Linked DNA regions of Homo sapiens: all the other regions are linked to region 2. The links are contacts of gene promoters, found by promoter capture Hi-C in blood cells and fetal thymus (Javierre and others, 2016). All regions are on one chromosome and are shown on one strand. The core of a region is centred on a gene start or on the middle of the fragment in contact, and the rest is flanking DNA. Distances in the headings are between cores, read along the strand shown.

Evidence for each region. Contacts are between HindIII fragments. The CHiCAGO score rates a contact against its expected background, and 5 or more counts as called.
Region 1: a fragment that was not itself captured here is called in contact with the fragment with the promoter of DPY19L3 in region 2 in 1 of 17 cell types (endothelial precursors); the score reaches 5.9 in endothelial precursors.
Region 3: a fragment that was not itself captured here is called in contact with the fragment with the promoter of DPY19L3 in region 2 in 1 of 17 cell types (M1 macrophages); the score reaches 5.0 in M1 macrophages.

Annotation. Positions count from the first base shown.
Region 1 is chr19:30,671,224-30,675,780 of GRCh38, reverse strand. It overlaps a transcript of ZNF536 not described here. Among named protein-coding and RNA genes, the nearest start is that of ZNF536-AS1, 3.3 kb to the right of the region's middle. The HindIII fragment of the contact is 7,406 bases long and covers 1-4,557 here.
Region 2 is chr19:32,403,745-32,408,314 of GRCh38, reverse strand. It overlaps DPY19L3 (dpy-19 like C-mannosyltransferase 3), which reads right to left and starts at 2,545. Exons shown (of 19, transcript NM_001172774.2): 1 at 2,406-2,545; 2 at 1-98. The coding sequence starts at 61. DPY19L3-DT (DPY19L3 divergent transcript) reads left to right here and starts at 2,776. Exons shown (of 3, transcript NR_046201.1): 1 at 2,776-3,324. RefSeq lists silencers at 2,164-2,913, 2,944-2,993. The HindIII fragment of the contact is 5,769 bases long and covers 1-4,424 here.
Region 3 is chr19:30,693,322-30,697,421 of GRCh38, reverse strand. It overlaps a transcript of ZNF536 not described here. Among named protein-coding and RNA genes, the nearest start is that of ZNF536-AS1, 25 kb to the right of the region's middle. The HindIII fragment of the contact is 9,269 bases long and covers 1-4,100 here.

The DNA of each region.
Region 1 (4,557 bases), core at 1,152-3,651, 1.7 Mb after region 2:
ATAGCCATCTTTTTGTCTCCTCTGAAGAAAGAATAGCTAGACTGGAAAGTCAAGGAATGTCTCCTCTTTTTTCTGGGCGCCAGGAGACAGAGAAATCAGAGTGGGCGCACTCATTACCTTTGCCTCTGGAAATAAAGCAGAAACAGACATCTCAAGATGAGATTTCAAGGCATGCAGCTGTGAGCCTTCCCAGCTCCTTCTCCAATCCACACTTTCTTGGTTTCCTTCCTTTCGTGATAAGCCATGGGTTACATCTCAAATAAACCTGAATGACCTGATTTCTAAACTCTGGTTCTGCTTCCTGAAAAGTTGCCCTGAGAGTAGGACCAGCCGAGGTCCACAGGAGAAGAGTCTTTCAGTCTTTCACCTGTTAGGAACAGCGTCCTTTCTCACCTGTCTCTGCTCACTGGCCATAGAGCAACGGACACCTTTGAGGGGTCCATCAGGTAGAAGCTCTGGGCTCATTGCACTTTGAACGCTTGCATCAGCAAACTCAAGGGCAAATCCATTTGCCTGTTTACATGGCAGAAACAGAGACGAGTGGTTGCTACTTCTGATACAAATCTCTGTGGAAGTGTCTAATGGCCCCCAAAGCCTAAATGGCATATCCAGTTCCTTAGAGGTGCGGCAAACGGATTCCAAGATCAATAAGCACTGTCCTATAGATAGCTACAGGAATGAAAGCCAGAGAACATGAGGCCAGAGAGAGAAACTGAGCCTCGTGGAGCACTGCACTGTTATCTGTGTCTCTTGGGAGTTGTGGAAACAGAGCCTCTCAGCCACCTTCAGCTGCAGGAGTTTCTCAGGGGGAAGGGATTTTGACAAGGCGGGCAGGTAAGCAGTGGAGCCCAGCCCGATGCCCACGTGACCTGTTCAAGCAGCAGGGTGTCATTCTCCCTGACCACAGGGGGATGGCTGGAAGGACCATCTCTGAGCATGTCCTGCCCTGTCTACTTGACTCCCATCTCTAAATGCAAAAAGCTGCCTACCTCGAATACCAACCAAGAACACACTATACAGGAGGCTTTTATTGACATCCCAGCTACAGAGGCAAGCTGGACAAGCTGAAAGTGCCTCCGAGTTCATATTTAGAGCTCAAGCTGGCCTCCACCCACGATGGGCAGCAATTTACCAGACAAAGGCAGCTTCCTCACCTCTCAGGTGGGGTCACTCTGAGGAGTGCTCTTCAGGTCCCAGAGCTCCCCAAAACTCCAACTGCCCACCTGGATTGAGGGCATACACTCCATTGGTTTCCTTCCCTTCCCAATACTCCATCAGTCACATGTCAAGTAAACCTGGATGCCCTGATTTCTTAACTCTGGCTCTGCTTCCTGAGAAATTAACCTGAGAGTAGGACCAGCCAAGGTCCACAAGAGAAGAGTCTTTCAGTCTTTTACCTGGCAGGAACAGCATCCTCTTTCACCTGACTCTATGCAACCACTCCCTCTCCATCCCCGGGCAGCCTGGGCACAGGGTGCATGGCACAGGATGCCCAGAACCAGCCCTAGCTCTGCTTACGGGACACAGAGTGATGCCTACGTGCCTTAAGGAGCACTGTGCCCTGAAAGCCTTCTCCACCCAGGCCCCTATCCCATCTCCTGCTGTCACCCCGCCAACCTGCTCCTCTCAGATAATATTTCCGAGTGCCTCAGCTCTGAAACACAATATCTGCCTCTTGGAGATGTGATGTGAGCTTTCACATCAGTTCCACCAAAAGTTAATTTCTGTGATGAATGCAATATACTCAAACCCATAAATCTGACCATCTGAAGGATTCAAATGGGGAATTATTGACAGCTGATGGAACCCAAGTGCGGAGATGAAGCTGCTTTTCTCATCTGTCCATCTAAATGTTGGAATGTGTATTGATTAAAATATGACTCGCTACAGAACCCAACATAAATCTAAACTCTATTAGATTAACACTAGCATTCAATTAACATAAAATGACAACGTAGGAGAAAAAGGCTGTGTGTCGGTCACCAGTAATATTTTACCTATAAACATGGGGAACCTGACATCGGGACGTGCGTCCGTGCACGGTTTGGGGTGGTGGGCACGCATGTGAGAGTTAGGTTGGGATGTGTGCCCCAGAGGCAGGAAGAGGTGACGAGATAGCAGGCTTAGGGGCACTGCAGGCTTCAGCCACAGGAGGAGAAAAGGGTGGCTGTGGCTGGTTGGCTTGACTCTTTTACTATTGCTTTTATTTAAGATGTGCCTGGGTGGCCAGGGCCATGGTGCTGTGCGGGCGATGTATGTGCCAGTCCCGTGGCAGGCACAGGGCGGGAGACCCGTCTACAAAAGGAAAATCTGAGTCAGCTTCTCAGACACAGAGAGAATGTTTTCAGTGGGTTCAGGACCCCAGCGTGGAGCAATGAAGATTTCCCCCAGGGAGAGGAGAGCAGAGATTTGAAGATGAACTGAAAAAATTCATATTGGAATCTAGGCAGAGGAAGACCAAGCAGAAAAGTGATGAAACAACAGTGATGTCATGTGTGCCCCTGAAGGGCCAGGCGCTGTGCTTGGCTTCTGCTCAGATCTGTCACTATTTCATGTCTCATAGGTCACACAGATCATACAGATCACCCTGGAAGGGTCCTAGGCGGGCTGGAACAGCTGACAGTGCAGATGAGGAAACGGAGGCTCGGAGAGGCTCGATTCTCATGTGACAGGGGCACTGGAGTCCTCACCCATTCCCCTGGGCCATCTCCTGCAGGCTGTTTCCACATATGCCAAAGCATATGGGGCTTTCTGGCCAAGGGGGTTCTCCAGTCATGGGCTCTTATTGGATTAAAGGGCCAAAGGGTGAACACCCCAGGAATACACTCAACCAAGACAGGATAGGGGCTGGCTTATAAACACCGCAGCTTTCTTGAGGTTGTCCACATAGTTCCTCGGAGGGTCCCAGCAGGAATAAGACTCCATTTCCCACAGGGATCACCTGCTTCAAAACACGCCTACATCTGCTCCCCCCACTCCCTCCTTGTACTTCCTGGGATCTTCTCTCCCTCCTCCCAAAAAACTGCCTGTGCCTAAATCCTTATCTTAGGGTATGATTCTGGAAGATTCCAAGCAAAGGACTAAAGTCACAGAACTCATAAGTGGTAGCAGAGAATTTGATGTGTTTGTTTTTTAAACCAGGCTTCTCATCATTCTCCCCCATGCTCTTACTAACAGATTCTTGAGCTAGGATTGGAGAGGAATGGGATTAAAACATCACTACAAAGAAGATGGAGGTTTGCAGACCCCATCTTTCAGATTTGACCTTGTTTGCTGTATGGACCCTGAAATATGCTTTGCTGTGGAAATAATGCCCCTTTTGTAATTGGGTGCCCAGGCTAGCTCTCAAAGCCCTCTTAGCATCTGGTTTACATGTTCACCAATTCGCTATTTCAAACGCATGCATTCTAATGTAAAATATTGCATGTAAGGGTACCAACTTGGGAATGCCAGAAACACACCTGAGCAACGGCAGCCCTGGGGTGGTCACTTAAGTCTCTATAACATCAGCACAATTATGGCCCCTCTGCACACACAGACTCCTCCAGGGGATGGGGCACCCCAACTGGCAGATCATTTGTAAGAAGTTCTGAATTGCAGAATAAAAGGGGAAGCTATTTTCTGTCTGTCTGGGTTCAGTTTCTCTGGCCAAGTAATCTATCTTGTTTTGAATAAAATATTATAGCAAGGAAAAAGAAACGTTGAGATGGGAATCGGGTGACCCAAGTGAAGGCCTGGACGGCCCCAGTGAGTGACATAGCCTTGGCTGAGTGGGCCGGGTCCCAGGGCGGTGACCACGCTCCGTAAAGTCCTACTGAGAAAAGAACTCCTGGGTAGATGATGGGCCTGTCTTGATGCCTCAAGTCCAATGGCCACAGACCCTCCCAGAGATCCTTCCAGCTGTACCAGGACTAGAAGGACATTCTCAGGGATCTTGCCAAGCAAGGATCTTGGCAGCCTCCCAGGGTCGGAAGAATGCATTTTGAAATTGCAACCACCCAAGTTGAGGCTGTTTGTTCGTCACTGAACAAATGTCTGCTGAGTATCTATTTATACCTAGTGCTTCCTGAGATAGCGCAGGTGCTATAAACACTAGTTAGACATATCCCCATGTCACTGCAGACTGCCCGCCTCCTCCTCACCTCTGGTCACTGAGGAAGAGCCACCTCCCTCCAGTGAGGCTGTGCCCTCTCAGCACCTGGGGCCTCCACCCCTGCCCCGCTTCCCCTTCTCCTTCTCCCTCAGTTCTTCCTGCTCTGCACCCCTGAAGCCCCAGAGTCACTTGGATGAAGCCGCCATCATCTCTGCTGAGTTGACAAGGCCTCCGTGACCTGGCCACAGTCTCTCTCCAGGCCTGTCCCTGGTCACTGCTTCCACACCCTCTGCATTTGCTCTAGGACAGACCCTTCAGCTCCCCGGCTGGGCCAACCTTTCCAGTGATCATCACATGCTACTCCTTTGGCTGGGAAGCCCCCAACTATGTCACGGGCACCTAACAATTTCCTCCAGATTTCAGACTGGACACATGACCCCTTCCCCAATGTCAAGCCTGAACAT
Region 2 (4,570 bases), core at 1,296-3,795:
CTGGAAAGTCTTCAGAAACTTCTGTGGCTCTTATTTCTCTTCTTTGCCGGATGGACATCATGATGTCAGACTTACATGCATTGTTCTCCAAATCACTCCTAGATAGCAATAAACAGGCCATCAACGTCAGTGCCTTCTCCCCAACACACCCCGTGCTCATCCATGCTGAAATGCCTTTACTTATGCCATTTTCCCTCTATTAGCATGCCCTCCCTTTTTTTTTCTTCCCCCCAAGACAGGGTCTCACTGTCACTCAGGCTGGAGTGCAGCGGCACCATCACGGCTCACTGTAGCCTCTACTTCCACAGGCTCAGGTGATCCACCTCAGCCTCCCGAGTATCTGGACTACAGGCATGTGCTACTACACCTGGCTAATTATTTTTTGTAAAGATGGGGTCTCCCTATCTTGCCCAGGCTGGTACTGAACTCCTGGCCTCATGCGATCCTCCCCGCCTTGGACTCCCAAAGTGCTAGGATTACATGAATGAGCCATTGTGCCCAGCCTGCCCTCGATCTTGCCATCTAAATCGTTGCTGGCCTTCAAAGCTACACTCAAAACACAATTCAAATATTTATTCAACTCAATCATATTTATTCATGAAGCATGTGCTCTACAGCAGGCCCTGCCAGGAGTCAGGAATACAGGTAAGCAACACAAACGAGCCACTGCTTTTCTTCCAGAACATCTTGGGACATTCCAGTTCCGGCTGATCTTCTCCCTCCCTGAGCCATAGCAGTTACCACGCAATGCGTCACGTAACTACACAGTTGTATATTATTTTCTACTTCCATAGGCGGTAGTAGGTCTTCAGTACCTCCCACAGAAGTGGCCACGTGGGAGATACTCCATAGTAAATGTGTTGACAACCGGATTTTGAAGAATTAAAATATTGTTTTGTCTCAGGTACCTGAATTTTAACACCAGTGTTCTATAAAACAATTCACACTGGCAGCTTCAGGAATACGCCTCAGTGGTGATGACTGCGGGGGTGTGCCAATCAGGGCAGCTGCTATCCCAGGGAGCGTCGGTGGGAGTAATGGGTGGGGGGGAGCAGGAGCCTGGTTTGGCAGCAGCAAGTGGGAGGCGGGGGAGTGGTGGCAGTGAGTAAGCGGGTTCCAGTCCTCCAGAACATCTTGCTTCACTCCTCTGAATAATGAACAGCCTCTTACTAATTATTTCTTAAATGTGACTAGTAGCCTGACATGATTGTTTCCACAGTTTATTAATTCCTAAGGGTAACTTGCTCTACAGAACAAACCAACTAACATTATACAATTCATGTATTCATTCATACCAAAAAAAAAAAAAAAAGCAGGAAGCCAGATTTAAGTACTGTGCTTTCAAGCACTGGAAATGGAGAATCTGGAACAGAGAGGGAGAAGAGGAGTGTTTAACAAAGTCCTACAGCCACAGATGGGCTTATCCCCCATGTGACCTCATCCTAGAGTCCTCCCTAAGTGTGAGAGGACTTTTTTAAACAATTCATATATTCTAATATGTTAAGGCAGAAAACCAACACATATTTAAGTACCAATTATGTGTCAGGCACTGCAACAGTCCCATGAACTAAGAAAAAAAGTTCCTCCATCAGATCAAAAGGAATGCCATTGTAAACAACTGAAAAGGGACCAGAAGCGATTCTTTATTAATAAGGACGACTAGCGCTAGCCGGGCGAGGCGGCTCATGTAATCCCAGCGCTTTGGGAGGTTGAGGCAGGAGGATGACTTCAGACCATGAGTTTGAGACCAGCCTGGGGAACAGAGCGAGACCCTATCTATACAATAAAATAGCCAGGCTCGGTGGTGCATGCCTGTGGTCCCAGCTACTCCAGAGGCTGAGGTGGGAGAATCGCTTGAGCCCAAGAGTTCGAGGTTGCAGTGAGCCGTGATAACGCCACTGCACTCCAGCCTGGGCGAGACAGCGAGACCCCTGTCTCTAAAAAATAAAAATAAAAAAGCCTAGCGCTCTAGTGAGCATCCCCTGGACGAGGCAGGCACCGGGTCCGCTTACCTACGCGCCACGCCCCTGCACACCTGGCGTCCCCATCAGGTAGGTCTCCAAGGACAGGGGCAGCCGGGAAGTTCAGGCACGCGCCCCAGCTCTCCCAAGACCGCGAGCGGCCGCCGGGGTCGCAGCCCAGGCCCTGCCTCGCCGCACGGCCGACGAGCAGAAGCCGCTCCGCAAACTTGGTCCTTCCGGAGCCCAGCCCGGCCCGCGTCCCGGCAGACACTCCCGCGCTCCGCCCCTCCCGACGCCCCGACGCCGCGGCCGCGCCCCCCGACTGCGCCACGCGGCGGGGAGGGGCGGCCCCAGGGGCTCGGGGCTGTAGCCGAGGGTTCCGCCGGCGCCCGCCCGCCCTCTCGGTAGACCCTCGCCCGCGCGTCCCGGCGCGCCGCCACAGACCTGCGGCCTCAGCCGTCCTCACGCGCGGCTCCGGGAGGGGAAGGAGGCCGACGGGGCTAGGCGGGAACGGGGCCGCGCCACGGGCCGCAGCGCGCCGCGGGTACAAGGAGGGCAGAACCGCCGCGGAGCTTTGTGGAAATGAGGGGCTGGGGGGCGTCAACAGCCCCGGGGAGGGGGCGCGCCGGAGAGGCCGGGCGGCTGCCCCCGCGCCCATAGGCCCCGGGAGCTGTTCGTCAACACTAGGCCCCGCCTCCTCCCGCGGTTCCCCGCCTCGTCTCGTGCTGCGCTGGCCGGAAGGAAGCGGCACACTTCCGCTTGCCTGGTCCGCATTGAGTCCGGTCTGTTCCGGAGACTCTGAGCGCGGCCGCGGAGCTGCAGTGGCGGGGAGTGGGGTGCGGATCTTGTGTTTGCGCACGCAGTCGCCGGCCACCTCAGGCCGGAGCTAGAGATACGGCTCGGGATAGGAGGGCCCGGCGGCTCTGAGGCAGGTTCGCCTCGAGCCGCACGGCCCGGAGCAGCGGCTCCGCGGTGGTCCCCGGGGCTTGAGAGGGGTGCGGGCCTGGGAGCCCCTGAGGGCCTGATTTACGGAACTCCCCCTCCTTCCTCCTTTCTGCCGTTCCCTGCTCTGTGGCGGATGCGCAGGGATCAGTAGGGACGGCAGCAGTAGGGCCACTCGGGCCTGCCCCGCTTCCCGCATTGCCCGGTTTGGCGCGCCGCCTCCGGGCCTTGGCAAAGCCCCAGCGCCCGATTGTCACTGACCAGTGCTTGGAAGTCCTTTACCGACTGCCCGTCAGCGTCCCGCGGAGAGGATTTTGCGTCTCCAAAGACGCCCCTCTTCCGAAAACAGGCTCCTCTGTGTTCTCAGTCGGGTATATTTTTCTGTCTCCAAACTAGATTGGCAGCCGTTTTTTGAGAGCAGGTACTGACTGTGCTTTATTTCTAGATACTTTTCTTAGTCACACCACGGAAAACACTAGGTGGAACCTTTTTTAAAATTATTTTTTACAGGTGAGGCTCTCAGTCTGTCGCCCAGGCTGGAGTGCAGTGGTGCTATCACGGCTCACTGCAACCTCGGCCTCCTGGGCGCAAGCGATCCTCCCGCCTCAGCCTCCGGAGTAGCTGGGACCACAGGCTCGCACTACTATGCCCAGCTAATTTTTAAATTTTTCGTAGAGATGGGGGTCTTGCTTTGTCGTCCAGGCTGGAGTGCAGTGGTGTGATCGTAGCTCACTGCAACCTTAGTCCCCTGTGCCCAAGTGACCCTGCTTCCTCAGCCTCCTGAGTAGCTGAGATTCATTTTAATTTTTATAGTGATGGGGTCTCGTTGTGTTGACCAGTCTGGTCTAAAACTCCTGAGTTCAAGCAGGCCTCCTGCCTCAGCTTCTCAAAATGTTGGGATTACAGGCTTTAGCCACTGCAGCGGGCCCATCAAACGTTGTATTTGTCAGTACATAATTTACATGTTAATTGATTTTTGTTAAAGGGATGGCCATCTGGGACCTCCACCCGTGAAAAGGCGGCTCATTGGTCTGACTCCAACACTAAATTACGCCATCCAGGAAGCCTTTCCTAGTCACCTCTGTTGGAGATCGTCCTCCTTTGTGTGTCGGTTGTTAGTAAAGAGCACACGTTCTGTGGAAAGATGTTGAGGTATCTGCTGGATGGCTTTGATAGAAACAAATGTCAGCTGTTTTTTCAGATGGCATTTGTCTTGTTTCAGCCTGGTTGTTGGTAGCTTTTCTGTCGCCTGGCTTGAGGGCAAGGACTGTATGTTTATTTTTCACGTTAAGATGCCTTTATGTGCATGTGTCTGTTTCATGAATACATAGGTGAATTGAGTTCCCCTTAAATAGGATTTCCCTCTTATTTTATAGGTTTTTTTTTTTCTCTCAAGTTGTTTCACTCTGGGGGAAATGTGACCATTGTGAAATATCATCGCTTAGTTAAAAAGAAAGTAGAATTCAGCAGTAGCTGCTTTTTTTAATACTATGAAAAGACATTCCTAAGCAAGATGAAGCTTTGAGACTTTTCCTAAGTAGGACCTACTGCTGAGAGTAAGTCTTGGGGAGAATAAGCCAATTAAGAATGAGTCTTTGGTTCTGATAAAGTAACCATGGAGGTGATGGATAATGAGTGTAGGTCCTTGCTCACACTTCTGGCCATAT
Region 3 (4,100 bases), core at 1,457-3,956, 1.7 Mb after region 2:
CGTGCCCATTGCATGGTAACCTTGAACTTCAAATGGGAGATGTGCATTTTGATTCCTCTGCCAATGCTGAAATCAGGGGTTGGGCTCCCATTTGTTGGATGATATGGTTTGGCTCTGTGTCCCCATCCAAATCTCAACTTGAATTGCGATCCCTAGGTGTTGAGGCAGGGACCTGGTGGGAGGTGATTGGATCATGGGGACCATTTCCCCCATGCTGTTCTCTTGATAGTGAGGGAGTTCTCATGAGTGCTGATGGTTTTAAAAGTGTTTGGCAGTTCCCACTTGCTCTCTCTCTCACCTGCCCCCATGCCTGGCTTCCCCTTTACCTTACGCCATGACTGTAAGTTTCCTGAGGCCTCCTCAGCCATGCAGAACTATGAGTCAATTAGACCTCTTTTGTTTATAAATTACCCTGTCTCTGATCATATCTTTGTAGCAGTGTGAGAATGGACTAGCACAGCATCTGTCCAGAGCCACAAAGCCAGAGAGAGGCAGAACATGGTCCTGCAGCTGGAGCTCAACCTGCACTGTGTCTTGCTGTCTCCCTGCAGCTTGAGGCCCAAGTTGAGTTAGGATAAGAGCTTAGATGTCGCCAGATTTCAGCAGGGCATCAGCAGAGAGGAGCCTCTGGCTGGTGGTGCAGAGTCTCCCATGCCTCCCAGCTCAGCCCCACCAGGTGTTGGCTTCAGGGCTACTCTTCCTGGGGCCTGGCCTCTAGGTGGCTCCCTTCCCCAGCAACTTCATCCCCCGCCATTGCGCATGCCCTACAGATTTTGCCTTATATCCTGTTTATTTGCTTACCCAGGCTCCTCTGATGAGTGGAGCCATCAGCCCGCCTGGGTGGTCAGGCAAGCCGGCCTGCCCTGCCAGTGTGCACTCAACAGCAACTATTGATCGGGGACCTTAAATCATTGCCCGGATTTTATGAAAGCATTTATGTTTATCATTAAATAACCTTCAAAGGGTCAATGAACTTACATTCCGTTTTTGAAGATTTTTCGATGTGTAATATAATAATACTCTAATGATACCCAGAGTTTGTCTCTGGGTGAGTGCATTTAGTCTTTAAAGAAATGCCGGGAGAAACCAAAGAGAAGGCGCTGGCCTGGAAGTGCTGGAGTGGGGGAGCCGGGAGCGGAGGGGCTGGTGGCCCACCTCACTCCTCCAGAAATTCCCTTCTCTCTCCAACATTGCGGGGGCTGGGGGAGAGGTGCTTATTAAACCGGCTTCAAAGGTAATTTTAAATGGAACCAAGCTGACCACTTTTCAGGTTAACAGCTTTAGCAAAAATCCCAAAAACTAGTGAATCAGAGTTGGATATTATTCCTAAAACAAAGCTAGAGTTGTGTATTTTTAAGTTTTTAACCAATTAATTTTTAAATATTAAGTGAAATTATTAGGGTGACACTCAGAGATGGCAAAAATAAGGAGTCTAAAATTAGCAGACGCAGCACCTATGATACACATTTAATATCCCTCGCTTCCCTCCTTAGGAACATTGGGCTAAACACAGTTATCTGAAATCCCTGTTGGCAATAAGATGGGCTGTAAGGATGCACGGAATTTAGCAGAGATGGTGACAGCCAGCCCTGTCCCTGTAAACCCTCTTCTGGGTACCATCAAGTCCACTGGGTCAATAGTCCACCTCAGACCAACAGTGAGACCTCTCCAGGCAGAAGAAAGCCACACCATCCATACCAAGTCAAGTCCCCAAATCCTGGCTATACATGTGCCCACCCCTCCTCTATAGCCATCCATGGCTCCCTATTTCTCACTGCAGTATCTCACCTCCTTAACCTGGCTTTCCAAATTGCAATCCCTTCTTACCTACTATACACTGTCGTTCCTACCAGAAATTCACCCATCTCCAGCCCCCACATCTTCTTCCATTGAGACCCGCCAAAGCCCCAACTCCTCCTAGAAGCGGTTCTCAGGACCCAGTCTGCAGAGCTCCACTTATCTGTGGCACCACACAATTAGGCACTTAATTATGTTCTGTCAGGCACTGTTCGCTAATGGCTCTAGGAGGCTGGAAACTGCTGCCCTCTGGCGGGCTCTGCACACAGTAGGGACTGGATAAGGAACCAGACGTTGTTTACTGAAGGACCTCTTTCTGGGGGTTCAGCCCACAGGAGTCCCCACCTTGCTATGCACACCCTGCTCAGAGCCTGGCACTTGGCTTCCTTCCTCCGTGCAGGCCACACCTCCTAACAGGTGACCCTGGAGCACCCTCCCCTGCACACTGTCCCTACCTGGTCTGTGCCTCATACCTGGAATGCCCCACCATGCCTTGCTGTTTTCCTCAGCAGGAAAATCTGAGTGCTCTGTGTTCCAGGGGGTCCCTTTAGTAACCCCAATCTCAGCTATTAATACTACGCTCTTCCTCCCATTCTCCACGTTGGTGGAGAGTGTTGAACGGCTTCTCAGGTGCACCTTGACATACTGGGTAGCTCTGCATTTTCCTCTTTCCTGCATTGAAGCTCAGAATCCCAATCACATCTCCAAGAACCACGCCCTGCCCTCCTCACTCTTGCCCTCCACCTTACCACTTTCTGTGGGGGACTGGGATGGCACGGCCCACCCTGACTGTGAGCTCCAAAAGCCCACAGGCCTCCCCCATGGGGGCCAAGTGGCTGCACCATAGATTCCATCACTGCTGTAGACATAAATGCATTCACCCTCCTAGTGGTTACAAGCTGCAGGCCCACATATTTTTTTCCCCCAACACTATTTCTTTAAAAAAAAATGTAATTCATTGCCAATGTTACATTTAAAAAAATATTTCACATTAAAACATGGATTTCCAGTTTCTCTTGCAAAGTCAGGAGGTCTGGCAAGATCTTCCTGGAGGCAGCCGCTGGGGAGCTGGGTCCCACTTATTCCCGCTGCCTGGCACCCATTTACTTCCCAGGCATCACCAGCCAGGCGCCTGTGGGCCCTGGACTTTCCAATCTCCACTTTGTACCACTCTCAACTAAACAGCCAGTATTGCACTTTCTTTGAGGTTGGGGCAGGGAGACTGGGTGAGGCTTTGTGTGTTTTTTCACCCAGCAGATGAACTGCATTCTTGTACACACCCAGTGAAATAAACAAGTGGGTGGTCCCTGCTGGTTCAATCACTTCCTGTTTTCCATTGTGTCGCTTAAAATGAACACATCAGCCCTTAATTGTAGTTTCTGTTTTATTGTACAACTTAAATGTGGGAGGGGGGCCAATATTGGAACTTGGCTTGTGCCAAGGGTGTGCTGTGCTCTGTATGGCACCAGGAAAGCCACAAGGGGAGGGGCCAACCTATGAAACCACCAGCATGAAGCACCTTAAGTGTATCGATATCCAATCCACTGAAAGCTGGCATCCAAGGTTATCTGTGGATAATTCACTACCTGCACACATCTTTCATAAAAACATTAGTGCATTTCCTACAGTGGGTTGGGGGGGCCATATGGGTTGCAGAGCAGCTCACCAAAAACAGTGTCGCGGGAGCAGTCACATTCCATCAAAATTCAGTGAGGTTGTATTGTATTAATGTGAGTTTATGTGTGAGAAAGAATCGCACATCTCTCTTCCCATAAAGGAATCAGACACCCGCAATCCATACCCACAGTATATATCCATATAGATGGGCACACTGGATATATTTAAAATAGCTACTTTTTATCATGCCCAATTCAACAAATTGGTACTGTGAACAATAGAAAATTACAAAGTAAAAAGGAAAGATGGAAGCATAAACTTTTCAATGCTCAGCCCTCATCCTGGAGCGCCACTAATGTCACGTGGCAGACATAAATAAATAAAATAAAACACAGAAGAGAGGTGTCTTTCTTTTTTTTTTATGAAGTCACAAAGGAAATGAGCCTCCTTTCTTCTCTTCTCTCCCCCCACTATAAAAGGCTCTCTCTAAAATCAAAGGTGTCAGACTTTGCATATCCTCTTGCTGGCATAATCCAGAATATGGCTGAGGAATGACAGATGTCCGCACCCAGCTGCAATGAAGCATGTGAAAGTTTCCATCTAATCCACTTATTTCTCTGTAGTCACGTAAACCAAAACAAATGGGCAGGGCTTTACATCAGGGGGAGGGGGAAAAAAACCTCACA